3 separate regions of the Homo sapiens genome follow, and all the other regions are linked to region 2. Evidence: promoter capture Hi-C in human tissues and cell types (Jung and others, 2019). All regions are on one chromosome and are shown on one strand. Each heading gives the region's core, a stretch centred on a gene start or on the middle of the fragment in contact. The rest is flanking DNA. Distances are from core to core; before and after follow the strand shown.

Region 1 (4,940 bases), core at 1,576-4,075, 690 kb after region 2:
CTCTGGGCCTCCCCAAGGCTCCCCTGGCTCTCTGAGTATCTACCTGGGCATCAGCAGGGAACGTCACATGGCATGCTGGCTTTGTGGAGTCACCCAGCCACGGCTGGGATGGTCGACTGGCACAGCACACGCCCCCTCCCCTCATGGCCTCCACTGAGACACAGCTTGATGAAGGCTGAAAGTAGGGGCCTCCACACACAAAACTTAGCCTTCCAAACCAACAGAAGCCATCCCAGCCTCCGCACCCCTGACCGACCCACCAGCATGAAGACAGCAAGCTGGCCAAATCTCTATTACAGGGAACGTGGACACTTTGTATCCTTCAGCTGCTCCCCTTTCTCCTTGGGAATAGTGAAATGGTACATGTTCCTTATTTCAGATTTCTCTACATACAGAAGAATGGACAGTAATCACAAAAGTATTCATAAATAATAAGACTCTTATTTCCCCTGATTGAACAGCTCCATAAAGTGAGTCAGTCTACTTCAAACATGGTAAGAAGCACCCGGAGTCGGCTCCACAGGTCCTGGAGTGACGATGACTACCAAAGGCCACTGCTGCCCCCCGCTGGGACAAGTAATCCTGATTTCATCATCCTGCCTCTCCACAACGCATGGAATTTCCAGTAAATGCTAACATTCTATTTTTATAAAGCACAGATTCAAATTAAAGTTACTTGTCTCCAAAAAGCTAACAATTCCATTTTAGAACGAAAGCCCAAACATCACAGGTAATAAATCACCATCAAAATTGCGTATCAATCTATGATCCCAATCAGTTTTTTAAAAATGACCAGGGAGTGTGCCCTTCTACCTCATTTCACTTCTATAAGAAAAGGCTGAATACCAAAGTTTGGTCTTAATTTTAGGCCTAATGAGAATTATAAATGTACAGGATACTGTCACTTTCAAGAACATTTTACAAGACTGGGCACAGTGGCTCACACCTGTAATCCTAGCACTTTGGGAGGCCGAAGCAGGCAAATCACTGGAGGTCAGGAATTCAAGACCAGCCTGGCCAACATGGCAAAACCCCACCTCTACTAAAAATATAAAAATTAGCTGGGCGTGGTGGCAGGTGCCTGTAGTCCCAGCTACTCAGGAGGCTGATGCAGGAGAATTGCTTGAACCAGGGAGGTAGAAGTTGCAGTGAGCCGAGATCATGCCACTGCACTCCAGCCTGGGCAACAGAACAAGACCCTGGCTCAAAAAAAAAAGAATATTTTACAAAAGCATTTCTAAATTATATTTTAAAAGTAAAGAATATGGCATTATACTGAAGGTCTTAGTAGTAGAAATACATTTCTCAAGCACTGAAATGTCTTATACAAAAATTTGGGTATTAATTAAAAAACAAAATAAAAAAAGGTAAATTGTCTTTTTAAAAAATTAAAACCCTATCAGCTATATCACAGCATTTTAGCAAACATTCAATTCTGCCAATTTTATTATGGCTACAATGATAGACTTTGAAACGTGAAAAGGGATTTCTTTCCATGGTCTGTGCACCAGCAATACAGCAAAAGCTTCCCACCATGACCATCCTTCCAAAGGCTAAGGAGGGCCATTTTCAGTACAATACTGTGGCATTTTCACTTTTGAAAGTACATAATCAAAGTTCAATATGCCATCCTCTAGCAAATCAGTAAACTGAGGTAAACTGAAACTACTCAATGCTCATCCACCCAGAAAATTATCTTCCTTCCAAATGGGAGGAATGATCAATTCAGAGGGAACATCTCATTAACTTTCCGGAGCGATTTCAGCGAAGTGGAAGTGAGCGGCTGTGAAAACTGCAAACTACATTAGACACGGGACCTCAGAAAGCAGTTTCCAAACTGGAATGTTTAAGGCTTAGGGAAATCATTGAGAATTTAATCTGAAGCCAAAGTTTAAAAGTATGACTGAATCTTTTATGATTAAACTTCTAAGACTCTGAAGTATTTTATTAAATCAATGAACTGAAATCCAGTGTTCCCTAAAATCTCTGGGAGGCCATCACCCTCACACGGGTGAGTGGTGGTGTTGTGGCTGGAAGGGCCTTCAACATCATCTAACCCCAAACAGAGAGCAGGAAAGTGCATACTCACCATCTGAGGCACACCGAAAATAACAACGTTCGAGTACTGCGAAAAAGTAACCTGAACAAGGTGGGAAAATAATCAGTAGATTAAGTGCAAAAAGCCAAACGTGAAGCTTAACTTGTTTTACAGAAATGGGTAGCAGTTTTCCATTTTACCAAACGGTGGGTTTTGATGAACTCCTAAGAACAGCGGCCCTCCTTAAGATTTCACAAGGAAAAGAATAACATGTTCATGCTCTCATTCATTTTAATTCAATCCACTGCAGTTTTCCAAACGCTTCCCTGTAAGTCATCCCATCTCATCCTCAGGGTGACTCCATCCAGGGCACGCCCCAGTGGTCATGCGTCAGACAGCTAGTGACCACACTGTGACCCCACTGTGACCAGCTGGTGGCACCGGGGCCACGTGTTCCCGCACCAGTCCACTCTATACCACCAGCTTCACCAGAACACAGGAGACTTCAGAACCATCTGTTTTTTGTTGTTGTTGAACCATCCTTAAAATTTGAGTCCCCCTCCTCTTCTCTAAAATACTATGTAAAAAAGTGCAATAAAATGGTCTTTAGTTGAAAAACTGGGGGGAAATGTGCTTTGCCAGTTAAAATTCTTATTGCCCAATAAGTCTTATTTACTCTATAGAGAGATCGTTTATGCACATATGGCATAAAAAAACAATGCAAGCAAAACTCAAGTGAATTTTTGTAAGCTACTGATGACAATATTACAATGGAAAATTCTTATTTAAGAAAAAGCATTTTATGGAACATTCCTAAAGCAAAATTACAGGGCATTTTTAGAGTTTTTAGAGTACAAATAAATTTGGAAGTATCTTATACTTTATGAGGATAAGAAATAACCGTGATAGCACGATTCTCCAGCAACCATCTCTGTGTCTCTCTAAATATACGAATATGCATACACACACTCACACAGGCACACAAATGGAAAAGTCTAATATTTATCAATAATAATTTATAGGATTTCCAAATGAGATGAAAAATCTCATTATTTTGTAAGAAACAGAAATGACAACATTTTAATTTAGTAAATAAATTCTTGGAATTCACAAGACCTATCATATAAAAACTTTAAGCTTCTCTCTAAAGGAGACTATTTGTAAAACGTATCAATTTTACATATTTCATTATGCCAGAATATTCACTTGGATTTTAATTATTTTTCTTTTAATACATTTTTCAGTTCTCAGTCATACTAATTTTGAATAATAAAATTTTCCCTTGGATTTCTCTAGGGCCATTCTCTGCCTTACATACCTTCCACAAATCTGAAATATAAAATTTGGCAGATCCATGCACACCTTCTCGCCAAGCGCGGTATCTGGAATACCAAACTAGCCATGGGTTTAATTCATAACCAACTGCTGTGAACCCTTTCTTCGCAGCCGCTATGACCTGTGGAGAGAGGCAGGATTTATTCAAAATAAGAAGAAAAAATGAACATACATGGTCAAACAATATGAATATTTCCTATCAATGGTTTAAACATCCAATCAAAAAGCACCTCCCGTGACTAAGACATCATTTTAAAATGTGTCTCTAAAGCGATATAGCTTTGTGGACAACGTAATAGTCAACCCATGCAACTTAGTTTCCTTGATTGGTTAAAGACTTCACCTCAAGTATCAGAATAGACATTCAGGTTCACTTGGAACACCTCCATAATTGATTCTAGGTCAGCCAACCCCCGGGGAGGTCGAACAAAACATTGCTGAAAATCCACTGCATCTCTCCATCAGTGGGCTAGCACAGCAGCAGTGAAATGAAAGTGTCTGGGAGGATGGTTTTGTGAACAAGTAATAATATGCAATAAAAATAACCTGTCAATGAAAAATCTGCAATTAGTTACATATTTCCTTTGTAGTTAATGACTGTTTACTCAAAACTGAAAACAGGTAAAAGTAAAATGAAATGAATCCCAATAACGTCAACTGTGGAATCCCACTGGCCTCCGGAGAGTGGGAGGGATGTGGGGCAGTCCTGGGTTCTCTCTGCCTGTTCTGTCCTGCCCCATTCTTTAAGGGAGCATCCCTTGACTCAGCTGTCCCACCTAAGATAGTTCCCAAGTACTACAGTGCTGCAAGAAAACATTTTCTCAGAAACCACAGATACTCTTCAAATACGTAAAGCATTCAAATATGAATTTCAAAACTTTCTCCTTGATTTATTGATATGGTTTGGCTCTGTGTCCCCACCCATATCTCATCTTGAATTCCCATGTGTTGTGGGAGGGACCTGGCGGGAGGTAACTGAATAATGGGGGCAGGTCTTTCCCATGCTATTCTCATGACAGTGAGTAAGTCTCACAAGATCTGATGGTTTTATAAGGGGGAGTTTCCCTGCGCAAGCTCTCTCCTTGCCTGCCACCATCAATGTAAGACATGACTTGCTCCTCCTTGTCTTTCACCTTCCACCATGATTGTGAGGCCTCCCCAGCTGTGTAAAACCGTAAGTCTAATCACCTCTTTCTTTTGTAAACTGCCCAGTCTCAGGTATGTCTTTATCAGCAGCATGAAAACAGACTAATATATTTCTTTTTTTTTTGAGATGGAGTCTCGCTCTGTCACCCAGGCTGGAGTGCAGTGGCGTGATCTTGGCTCACTTCAGCCTCCGCCTCCCAGGTTCAAGCGATTCTCCTGCCTCAGCCTCCTGAGTAGCTGGGATTACACGCGTGCACCATCATGCCTGGCTAATTTTTGTATTTTTAGTAGAGAAAGGGTTTCACCATGTTGGTTAGGCTGGTCTTGAACTCCTGACCTCGTGATCTGCCCACCTCAGCCTCCCAAAGTGCTGGGATTACAGGCATGAGCCACCACACCTGGCCACTAATAAATTTCTTAG
Region 2 (4,671 bases), core at 1,766-4,265:
CTGTGTCACGATTCAGATAGGCAGCTCTCTCTAACATCAGGAGCATCTGACATTGTCCCCAAAGAGCTGGCATCTGTTATTTTGGGCCACTAGCACACGGTACAGAGAAAGGCTTGTTGGTTGTAACATTTGTCCTTCAGCAAGAGGCTAACATGACTCTGGAACTAAATTTCTTACTGCAAATCCATGGACGGGGCTTCAGAAGGCCCATGACTCTAAAATTTATGCAGAAGTTTGTATAAATGTGCTTGTATTTATTTCGGTCTCGTGGTCAATAAGTTTTAACAGCCTCTGAGCTGTAAGTTTCTACGTTTCATTCTCCCAAGACACGTGATGAAATCATTTTAAAGGGAAACGGCAGTGAAGAACGCAGGTTTATTTTTACCAAATTCTGAACGTCTCAAAAATTTCCTCTGGACAGAGACAAGCTTTACCACCCAGGAGGCCAAAGCTTTACTCGCAGCAGGGATCTCGCAGCTGTTTGACATTATAACAACCAAATGAGTTAGTGCAATTCACAAAAGACATAAAATGATTAGCATCATCTGTCTTCTCCCTGTTAATAAAAGTACATATTGGCTAAAAGCACATAGAAATAGATGTCAGTTTGTCAACCCCACACTTCAATGAGTATACAGATGCTTAGTGTGACTGCATGGAGCAACGTGGATGAGCAAGCTTCTATCTCCAAAGTTTTTACAAGAAAGAAACTCAAGGGAAAAAACATCTGTGTTTCAAGTGAACCAAACAATTACACTTAGGGCTGTATTTTTCATGAAAAAAAAAAAAAAACATAGAAAAAGAAATCTTTTGGAGGGGAAAAAAAAATCCATGTTTCTTTTGGTGTAAATACAGGCACAGACAAGAAAATTATTTCAGTTATACATAACTTAATGGTATTATCTGCTTGAACTGAAGTTGTGTAAAGTGGTCATGATAAACATTACACTCTCTAAAATAATGAAACTGGCATTAATTAGCAACAAATTCAGCAATCCTAATTAGGTATTGAAAAATCTTTCTTATTAAAGCCTGGTTTTGTGTTTCTGTCTCCTTATGAACAGACTACCTCTATAATTAATAACATATCTGCTGATTCCAAACTCAGCCATTATGACAGAGCTCTTCTCGGTAAGCTAGACGTAAAACTTGTCTTTCTTCAAAACAAACCAGAACAATCATTTGTGACTCCTGATGTGTTAACTAAAGTACCCCTAAAAAGCAGAACGGTATTAAACAAAGCTCACGTTATCTTCCCTCAATTTCGATTTCTTTCTGAGTAAATGTAACAGTCACAAGGAAGGCAGATGCCCAGACAAGGAAGACTTTACAGCGATCTTTTTCTCTGGAAGAGACCTTTCTAGTTAGAGCATTTATGTCTGGCCACCACCTTTCCTGTCCCCTCTCCTAGCAAGGCTGACAGCTCTCTATAGCCACCAGATCAGCTCCCCCAACCCCCGGCCCCCAAAATGAAATTATTGCAAGATCTGCCTGGTTCTGCTGTTTGTTGCCTGGGACTCCCGCCCACTCGCCCAGGACCCAGCAACTGCCTGTGGCGCCTCGTCCTCCGAGCGCTCGCTCGCAGCGCCCCCTGCCGGGAATCCCGAGGACGCCGCAGGCGCAGGAAAGTTAAATCCCAACTCCGGCCGCGGCATCCTGGTACAAAGCAAGCAAAGGGCGAGGAGGTGAACGCGCTTCCCGCCAAAGCCAGGGGAACAGGGATGTGACCGCTCCAAGCCAGGCACCGGCCGCCGCGGGGAGCGAGCCGGGGGAATCACTCCTCCACGACCGTTCCCACGCACATCTTGGGAGAAACCATTCCCTCTGGAGCCCGATCTGCCCGAAACCCTGGGGTCTGAAACCCTGAGCCGCGGTGTGCAAAATCCGTGGAGCAGCGGAGGGATGCCTGGTGAAAGGGGCTCGCCTAGCTGCAGCGCACCTGGCTGGTGGTTCCCCAGGCCTCTGCATCCCCCGCCTTAGTGTCTTTCATTAACCAAGGCGCTTGGCGGAGTTGAGCCCAAGTCCCATTGCCTCCCGGTTCCCCTGTAAGGAAAGCAGGAAAACCTGCCCAAGCCGGTGGGGCTGCGAGGTGGCCGCTCCCGAACCGCCAAGTCCCGACCTCCGTGTCCCCTGCCCCCGGCTCGCGGCAGTGCGAGCCTGGAGGCGCGCCGGGGGCGGGCACAGACCAGTGTGCGCACCTTTCCGGGTGTTGGGCAGGGGTCCCGTCTCGCCCACCGCGACACTCCGGCTCCTTACCTCTCCATGCTCAGACCTCGGCACAGGCGGGTACACAAACTTCCAGCCCGTGCACTAGCTCAACTGTGGGCGCCCCCGGACTGACGGTCGTCCTAATCCTGTACGCGCAACCCCCGCCCAGGTGCCTGCTGATGGATCCCACCCGAGATCGGCACCACCCACCAGCCGACCGCTGCAGTCCCCGGGTCCCGGCCAGCGGCGCGGCGCGGCGCGGCGCGGTCAGGGGCTCCTGCCAAGGCCACGCAGGAATCGGGCGGGGGTCGCTCACCAGGTGCGAGGAGCGCTGGTGCCAGTCATCCAGCGCCTGGGGGCCAGAGCGGCTCCGAGGATCCTCTTCAGCACCTGGCTAGGGAAGTGGAGGCAGCAGCTGCAGCCGCCCCCTGCCACTTCCCCAGAGCCGCCCCCTACTCGCTGAGTTCCAGAATGGGGGCACCGGCTTGGGGGCCACGAGCACGGTCCCCGAGCGCGCGGCCAACCGGTGGGTGGGCAGGTTCGCGCCCAGCAGAGACGACCCTCGAGGTGGCAAAGTTGGGTGTCCAAGCCAGCTCCGCGGGGCAGTCCTGGGTGGGAGAAGGGAGCGTCCCGGGATGAGCGACACTGGCCGGGCCGCCCCTGCACGGGGAAGGTGGAGGGCCGGGGCTGCAGCGGGCCAAGGGCCGCGGCTGGCCTGAGGCTGCGAAGCCCACCCGCGGCGGGAAAGCAGCGCTCGGGAGCGGGCTCAGGGAGAGCAGCCGCCACCGGCGCCGCCTTCCCGGCAAGTAGATCGGCGCGGGGCGAGCGGGCGCGGAGAGCGCGGGGCGGAGAGCGCTGGGCGGGGAGCGGGGGACAGCCTGGGCCCACCCCCGCCCCGCCCCGCCCCTGCCCCGCCCCCGCCGCCGCGCCGCCTCCTCCTCCTCCTCCTCCCCGCCGGGGTGAAACTCGAGCGCCCCACCCGCGCCTGACCTCCCCGAGCCCCTCCCCGGGCCCCGCCCCTTCCCGGTACAGGACCCCCACCTTCGCTCCTGGGAGCCCCGCTGCACCCCAGGAGTTCCATTCCAGCCTCCCCAGTGCGAGTGCGGCCGAGCGCTGACTTTTGGGGGCTCCCTCCCCCGTCTCACTGGGTCCCTCTGCGGCTCCCCCGCCCGCTGTCCCGGTTCAGACGTGGCTGCACCCCGGAGGGGGGCGCCGGCCGAGACCTGAGACGTGGCGCTCCCTCTCTGCCGGCCTCGGCTTCAGGTACGTGCGGTTCCCTCGGCTAAATCTGGCCCGGGGGATGGGGGGCAGGGGCCGTCTGGTCCTCCGGAACTCGAACTTTGTGATTTTGTTCTTTCTGTGTGACATCCTCATCCGTTCTGAGGGAGAAACTCCTTAAAGAAGACGAGAGAGTCAGTCGTTGCGGGTTCTTGGAGGAGCACTTTGGGGGTGAGACTCCCGGCTAGTTCGGGTCGATTTCAGCGGGATTAAGTCAAGGAAATGAACAAATCTGACGAATCAGGGAGGCCAGAGAAGGCGTCCCCAGGTAGCCACGCTGAGCGTTAAGAGAGAAGTCCCGTATGGTCAAAGTCATTCGTCCAATTCTGTGTCAATTATTCCTTGTTGCACTTTTGCAGGATCCTTGGGCCTTACTAAGTACTCAGGTGAAAAGTTGATAATTGGGAAGCAAGTAAAGTACCTTTGAAGACGTGTATAATTGGACACTTTGTTGCAGTTCTTCAGTTTCTGGAGGAGGCGGTGGGGGGGGAGAGGGAGGGGGTCAGCCTCGCGAAAAGAGCAAATGGTAAAGTTATAGGAGTATAAGGCATAAAACTTGGGTTGGGAGTCCTGACTGGCCTTGAGTGGCCCTTTCCCACTGGATGGGGGTGCGGGACAGTATCTCTGGGCCCTTTTTACTCAGTCTGCGCCTCAGAGGGAGGCTTGAAGGTCCCCTGCATGAGGAAATGTGTGAATTGCCCCCTCCTGACCGCAGTGAGGTAGGGACCCCCGCAAGGACCCACGTTCACACCAGCGCCCTTCCAGCCAGTGGTGGGGTATGGATGGGCCTCGCTGGTCCTGGGCATGGTCCGGTGCGTCCATAAGGGTTCCATTGAGCTCATCCATAAAACAAAGAAGCTATTGCAGGCTGCAGGGTGTCATAGCTCGCACAGTAGCCATGCAGACCTAAGAGGACAATGGAAATACAAATTGCTATCGATGTGTCTTTATTTTCTAGAACTTTTTTTTAAAATAAAAGAATTAAGTGAAAGCAATTCCGAAGGTTTCTATGAAAGCCCAGCCCATCCCCAAATGCCCAGTCTCTGGCACGGGTGATCTGGCTGTCTTGGGTACTCAGGCCTTACTGGGATTTCCTTTAAGACCTCTGGGAGGAAGTGTCAGTAGCTGGGCAGGCCTTCTTGGCAAGCATTCCTCCCTGGGTTGTGGCGGGGGCTCCCGGCCTGC
Region 3 (4,883 bases), core at 2,235-4,734, 590 kb after region 2:
TAAGTGAAGTAACTCACGAATGGAAAACCAAACATTGTATGTTCTCACTGATATGTGGGAGCTAAGCTGTGAGGACACAAAAGCATAAGAATGATACAGTGGACTTTGGGGACTTGGGGGGAAGAGTGGGATGGGGCCAAGGGATAAAAGGCAACAATAGGGTGCAGTGTATACTGCTTAGGAGATGGGTGCACCAAAATCTCACAAATCACCACTAAAGAACTTAACTCATGTAACCAAATACCACCTGTTCTCCAATAACTTATGGAAAAATAAGATTTAAAAATAAGAATTAAAAAAAAATGAGCAGGGGTTTATTAGGGGAATCACCTTTGAGAGATCGGGGGTAAGAACGGAGGAGGCTGGTGGAGGACAGCTGGAAAGAGGATGGGAAGGAGGCATTCTAGATGCCCACAGTCTAAGGGGGAGCCCCTAGTCAAAGGCACCCATCAGAAGAGGCCTGCGTCTCCCAGGAAGAGCCGGTCCTAGCTCCCCTGCTCGCAGGCAGGAGCTGGTGCAATGGACTTCCCAGAGCGGGGCCTTGCTCATTACCCTGTGTAGCTGAAGCTCTGCAAGGTGCATTCCCGTGGCCACCAGCCCACTTTTTCCCACTGACTTGAGAGCCACCTCTGTCACCAAATCTGCTCATGCACAGTCAATCACTTCCTCACCCTCGCCAGTGTCCCACTGCTTTCGCCACTGCATCTTAAGAGTCCGTCCAGGTCCTCGGGAAGAAAAGCATCCTGCCCTTCTCCTTCTCCTGGGACCCAGTAGCTTTGGCTTTTATTCTGTGTTTACTCGTTCGTATGAAATCTAGAATGGATTTATCAACTTCCTGGAAAAATCTTGTAGAGATTTTGATTGGCAACTCATTGAATTTATAAGCTCGTTTGAGAAAATGTGACCTCCTTACCACATGGAACCTTCCCATTTTTTAACATAATTCATCTCTCCTTTTATTTAGGCTTTTTTTTATGTCCTACTATGACATTTTGCAGATTTCTCCATCTAGGTTTCACATTTTTTTAAAAAGACTTTTTTTTTTAAGAGCAGTTTTAGGTTCAAATCAAAATTGGGAGGAAGGTACGCAGACTTCCCTTATCCCCTCTGTCCCCACACACACGCACAGCCCCTCAGACACAGCTGGCATCCACACCAGAGCATATGTTTCTTACACTCCATCCACCCACACTGATATGTCAGTATCACCCAAAATCCATGGTTTAAATTAGGGTTCCTCCTTGGTGCTCTTCATTCTATGTGTTTGAACACACGTATAATGACATGTATCCACCATTACAATAACACACAGAGAATTTTCACTGCCCTAAAAATTTTCTGTCTTCCACCTATCCATCCATCCCCCCAACCCTAGGCAACCACTGGTCTTTCTACTGTCCCCATAGTTTTGCCTTTTCCAGAATGTCATATATTTGGGAGCAGATGTATGTAGCATTTTCAGGTTAGTTTATTTCACTCAGCAGCATGCATTTAAGTTCTTCCATGTCTTTTTATGACTTGATAGCTCATTTTTTAACACTGAATAGTATTCCACTGTCTGGATGTACCACAGTTTGTTTATCCATTCACCTACTGCAGGACCTCTTGGTTGCTTCCAGGTTAGGGTAATTATGAATAAAGCTGCTATAAACATCCATATGCAGGTTTTGTGTGGACAGAAGTTTTCAACTCATTTGAGTAAATACCAAGGAAAGTGACTGCTGGATCCTATGGTAAGAGTATGTTTTCTTTTATAGGAAACTGCCAAACTGTCCTCCAAAGTGGCCACACCATTCTGCATTTCCACCAGCAATGAATGAGAGCTCCTGCTGCTCTACGTTCTCACCAGGATTCAGTGTTGTCGGCATCCTGGATCTGGGCCATTCTAATAGCTATGTAGTGACATCTCATGGTCATTTGGTTTTAACACTTTTTTGTTAGATTTTGCATCTGGGCTGTGTTCACTTGTGAGTTAGAGGAAATCTAAACACCAATGGCTGTAACCAGTAAGGTCCCCTACCTCTTTGTCTCTCCCTCCCAACCTCACCCTTCACCAAGAAGCCCAAGGTAAGGCAGCCCAGGCCAGTGATTTGCTCCAGGAGATCATCAAGGAACTGAGCATCTTCTGTCTTTTCCTCCACCATCTTCAGCAGAAAGTGGTCACAATGTGATCCCAAGAAGCCTGCTGTACCTCCTGGTATCTTGTCTGTATTCCAGGCAGGAAGAAGGTGGAAGAGCCAACAGCAGCTTCTTACCAAGTGCTGTCTTCTTATCTGATGAGGAGCCCCCTCCTGCAGGAATTCTACTTACATATCATTGAGCAGACCATCACACGGCTAACACCACCTGCAAAGATGCTGAGAGATCCTTTATCTTTGGTGAATATATTGACAAGCCAAGCAAAGCTTAAGGGGATTTTTTAGTAAAAAAAAAAAAAAAAAAGTTAAGGCCGGGTGCAGTGGCTCAAGCCTGTAATCCCAGCACTTTGGGAGGCCGAGGTGGGCAGATCACGAGGTCAGGAGATCGAGACCACCCTGGCTGACACAGTGAAACTCCATCTCTACTAAAAATACAAAAAAAAAAAATTAGCCGGGCGTGGTGGCAGGCGCCTGTAGTCCCAGCTACTCAGGAAGCTGAGGCAGGAGAACGGCGTGAACCCAGGAGGCAGAGCTTGCAGTGAGCCGAGATCACGCCACTGCACTCCAGCCTGGGCGACAGAGCAAGATTCCATCTCAAAAAAAAAAAAAAAAAAAAAAAAGTTAAAAAAAAAAGAGGATGGCTAGGCCTTTGGCATGGTTGCCAAAGGTGTAGTCTCCAATACCCAAAAGATTTTGTTAGTATTATGTATTGTGTTAGTATTATGTATTGTTAGTATTATGCATTTGTTAGTATTAATAGGATCATTTTTCCTATTGAAATTTCTAATTGGTTTTTGCTGAAGGAAGAAAAGTTGCCAATCTTTATATGTCCAACTCACATTCAGCACTCCCGCTAAACTAATTAATTGGTTTTAATCATTTGTCAGGTTATTCTTCGGATTTTCCAAACTGAGCAATTATGGCCTCGGAAAATAACAAGAGTTTTGTTTCTTCCTTTCCAATTTGTATTTCTTTTCTTGAATTTGGGCTAAGCTGTGATATGGGAGATGTGATTTGACTTTAATTTTGTGGCACCGCTAGGCATGGTGGTTCCTACAGTTTCCTGGTTTACATCCTTTAATAGTTCAGGGAGTTCTCCTTTATTCAGTTTTCTAGGTGTTTGTGTCATGAATGAATGTTTATGGGAGCTGGACAAATGGCAGGATCTACTGTGAAAATTATGGGGATTTTTTTCCCCACTAATTTAGTAAAGCATTGACAAATTGACAATTTGTCCATTTTTTGTTGTTGTTGAACCAACCCTAGTGGCTCGAGTTATATTATATTATTAATAAATTATAGGATTCAATTTACTAATATTTTCTTTGTGGTTTTTACATGTACAAGTATAATGATCCTTTGTGTGTGTTTTTTTTTCTTATGCTTTCCTTATCTTATTTTGATAATAGTGTTTTTACTAACTTCACAAAAGGAGTTGGTCAGCTTTCCATCTTTTTCTAAACTCTAGAATAGTTTCAGGGGATTTAGGTTATTTGTTCCTTAAATACTTTATAAAAATCATCTTTTAAACTCTACGGATTTGTTGCCTCTTTGGTTATTGATCTTTGTCTATCATTTCCATTTATCTAATGATTGTGTCTCTATCCAGGTTTTCTACTTGCTCTTGGATCAATTTGTTTATATATATTATCTTAGAAAGTTTTCAACATCAGTCATTCTTAGTGTATTGGTATAAAAATATTCAATTCTTTTATAATTTTTGAAGGTTGATAGTATCCGTAGTTATAAATCCTTTTTTGTTTACTCATGATATTTATGTCTTCTCTCCTTTTTATTGATTATACCTGTCAAAAATTTGTCTATTGTGTTAATTGTGTCAAAGAACTTGCTTTTGGTTATGTTGATGACTGGAATTTCTGGCCTTCTGTTTCATTAATTCCTGCTTGTATATTAGTTTTCTTCTTCATTCTACTTTCTTTAGATTTTTGTTATTCTTTTTTATAGTTTCTTAAGTTGAAAGCTTAGCTCATTTATTTTTAATCTTTCTTGTTTTCTAATAAATGCACTTCTGGATCTAAATTCCCCTCTGAGTACCACTGTGGCTTTATCCCATAACTTTTTATGTGCAGAACTTTTACAGTCATTCGGTTTTAAGTACTGTACTCCATTATGATTTCCTCTTTAAAACGTGAATTATTTAGAAGGTTTTTTTTTAACCTCCAGATGTTATGCGGGGATATCCTGTCTATCTTTATGTTGTCGGTTACTATTTTTACTCCCCGGTCCCCATTGGAAAAAGGACTTGATGACTTCAGCCTTTGAAAATTGTGGATTTTTCTTTGTTGCTTAGTACATAGTTAATTTTTTATAAATTTCCCCATGTACTTAAAACTAATGAGTATACTCACTTGGATGTAGAGTTAATTAAATTCTTCAAATCCTTTATTTTCTTATTAATTATTATTCTACTTGCTATGGTAGCTTTTGAGAACTCATTTCTTGTGGCCGCGGTAACAAATTATCACAGACTCGGTGGTTTAAAACAGCAGAAATTTGTTCTGTCCAAGTTCTGGAGGCCAGAAATCCAAAATCAAGGTGTCATCAGGGTGGTGGTCCTTCTAGGGGCTCTAAGGGAGTCTGTCCCTGGCCACCTTAGCTTCTGGTGGCTGCCCACCTTCCTGGACACTCCGTGACTTGTGCCAACTTATTACAATGTCTACCTTCCCCTTCCCATGGCCTCCCCCTCTGTGTCAATTCTCTGCCTCTCTCTTAAAAAGATACTTG

Evidence for each region. The method cuts DNA at HindIII sites, captures the fragments that hold promoters and counts their contacts. A contact is called where the count stands out against the background at its distance.
Region 1: a contact is called between a fragment that was not itself captured here and the fragment with the promoter of SEMA5A in region 2, in 1 of the 25 tissues and cell types used here (dorsolateral prefrontal cortex).
Region 3: a fragment that was not itself captured here is called in contact with the fragment with the promoter of SEMA5A in region 2 in 1 of the 25 tissues and cell types used here (hippocampus).

The regions. Positions count from the first base shown.
Region 1 is chr5:10,233,122-10,238,061 of GRCh38, forward strand. ATPSCKMT (ATP synthase c subunit lysine N-methyltransferase) reads right to left here. Exons shown (of 5, transcript NM_199133.4): 3 at 3,357-3,494; 4 at 2,090-2,140. Among named protein-coding and RNA genes, the nearest start is that of ATPSCKMT, 14 kb to the right of the region's middle. The HindIII fragment of the contact is 6,092 bases long and covers 1-4,940 here.
Region 2 is chr5:9,543,060-9,547,730 of GRCh38, forward strand. SEMA5A (semaphorin 5A) reads right to left here and starts at 3,016. Exons shown (of 23, transcript NM_003966.3): 1 at 2,525-3,016. SNHG18 (small nucleolar RNA host gene 18) reads left to right here and starts at 3,141. Exons shown (of 3, transcript NR_045196.2): 1 at 3,141-3,471. RefSeq lists a silencer at 2,950-3,139. The HindIII fragment of the contact is 8,719 bases long and covers 1-4,671 here.
Region 3 is chr5:10,132,147-10,137,029 of GRCh38, forward strand. No RefSeq gene overlaps it. Among named protein-coding and RNA genes, the nearest start is that of ATPSCKMT, 120 kb to the right of the region's middle. The HindIII fragment of the contact is 6,248 bases long and covers 361-4,883 here.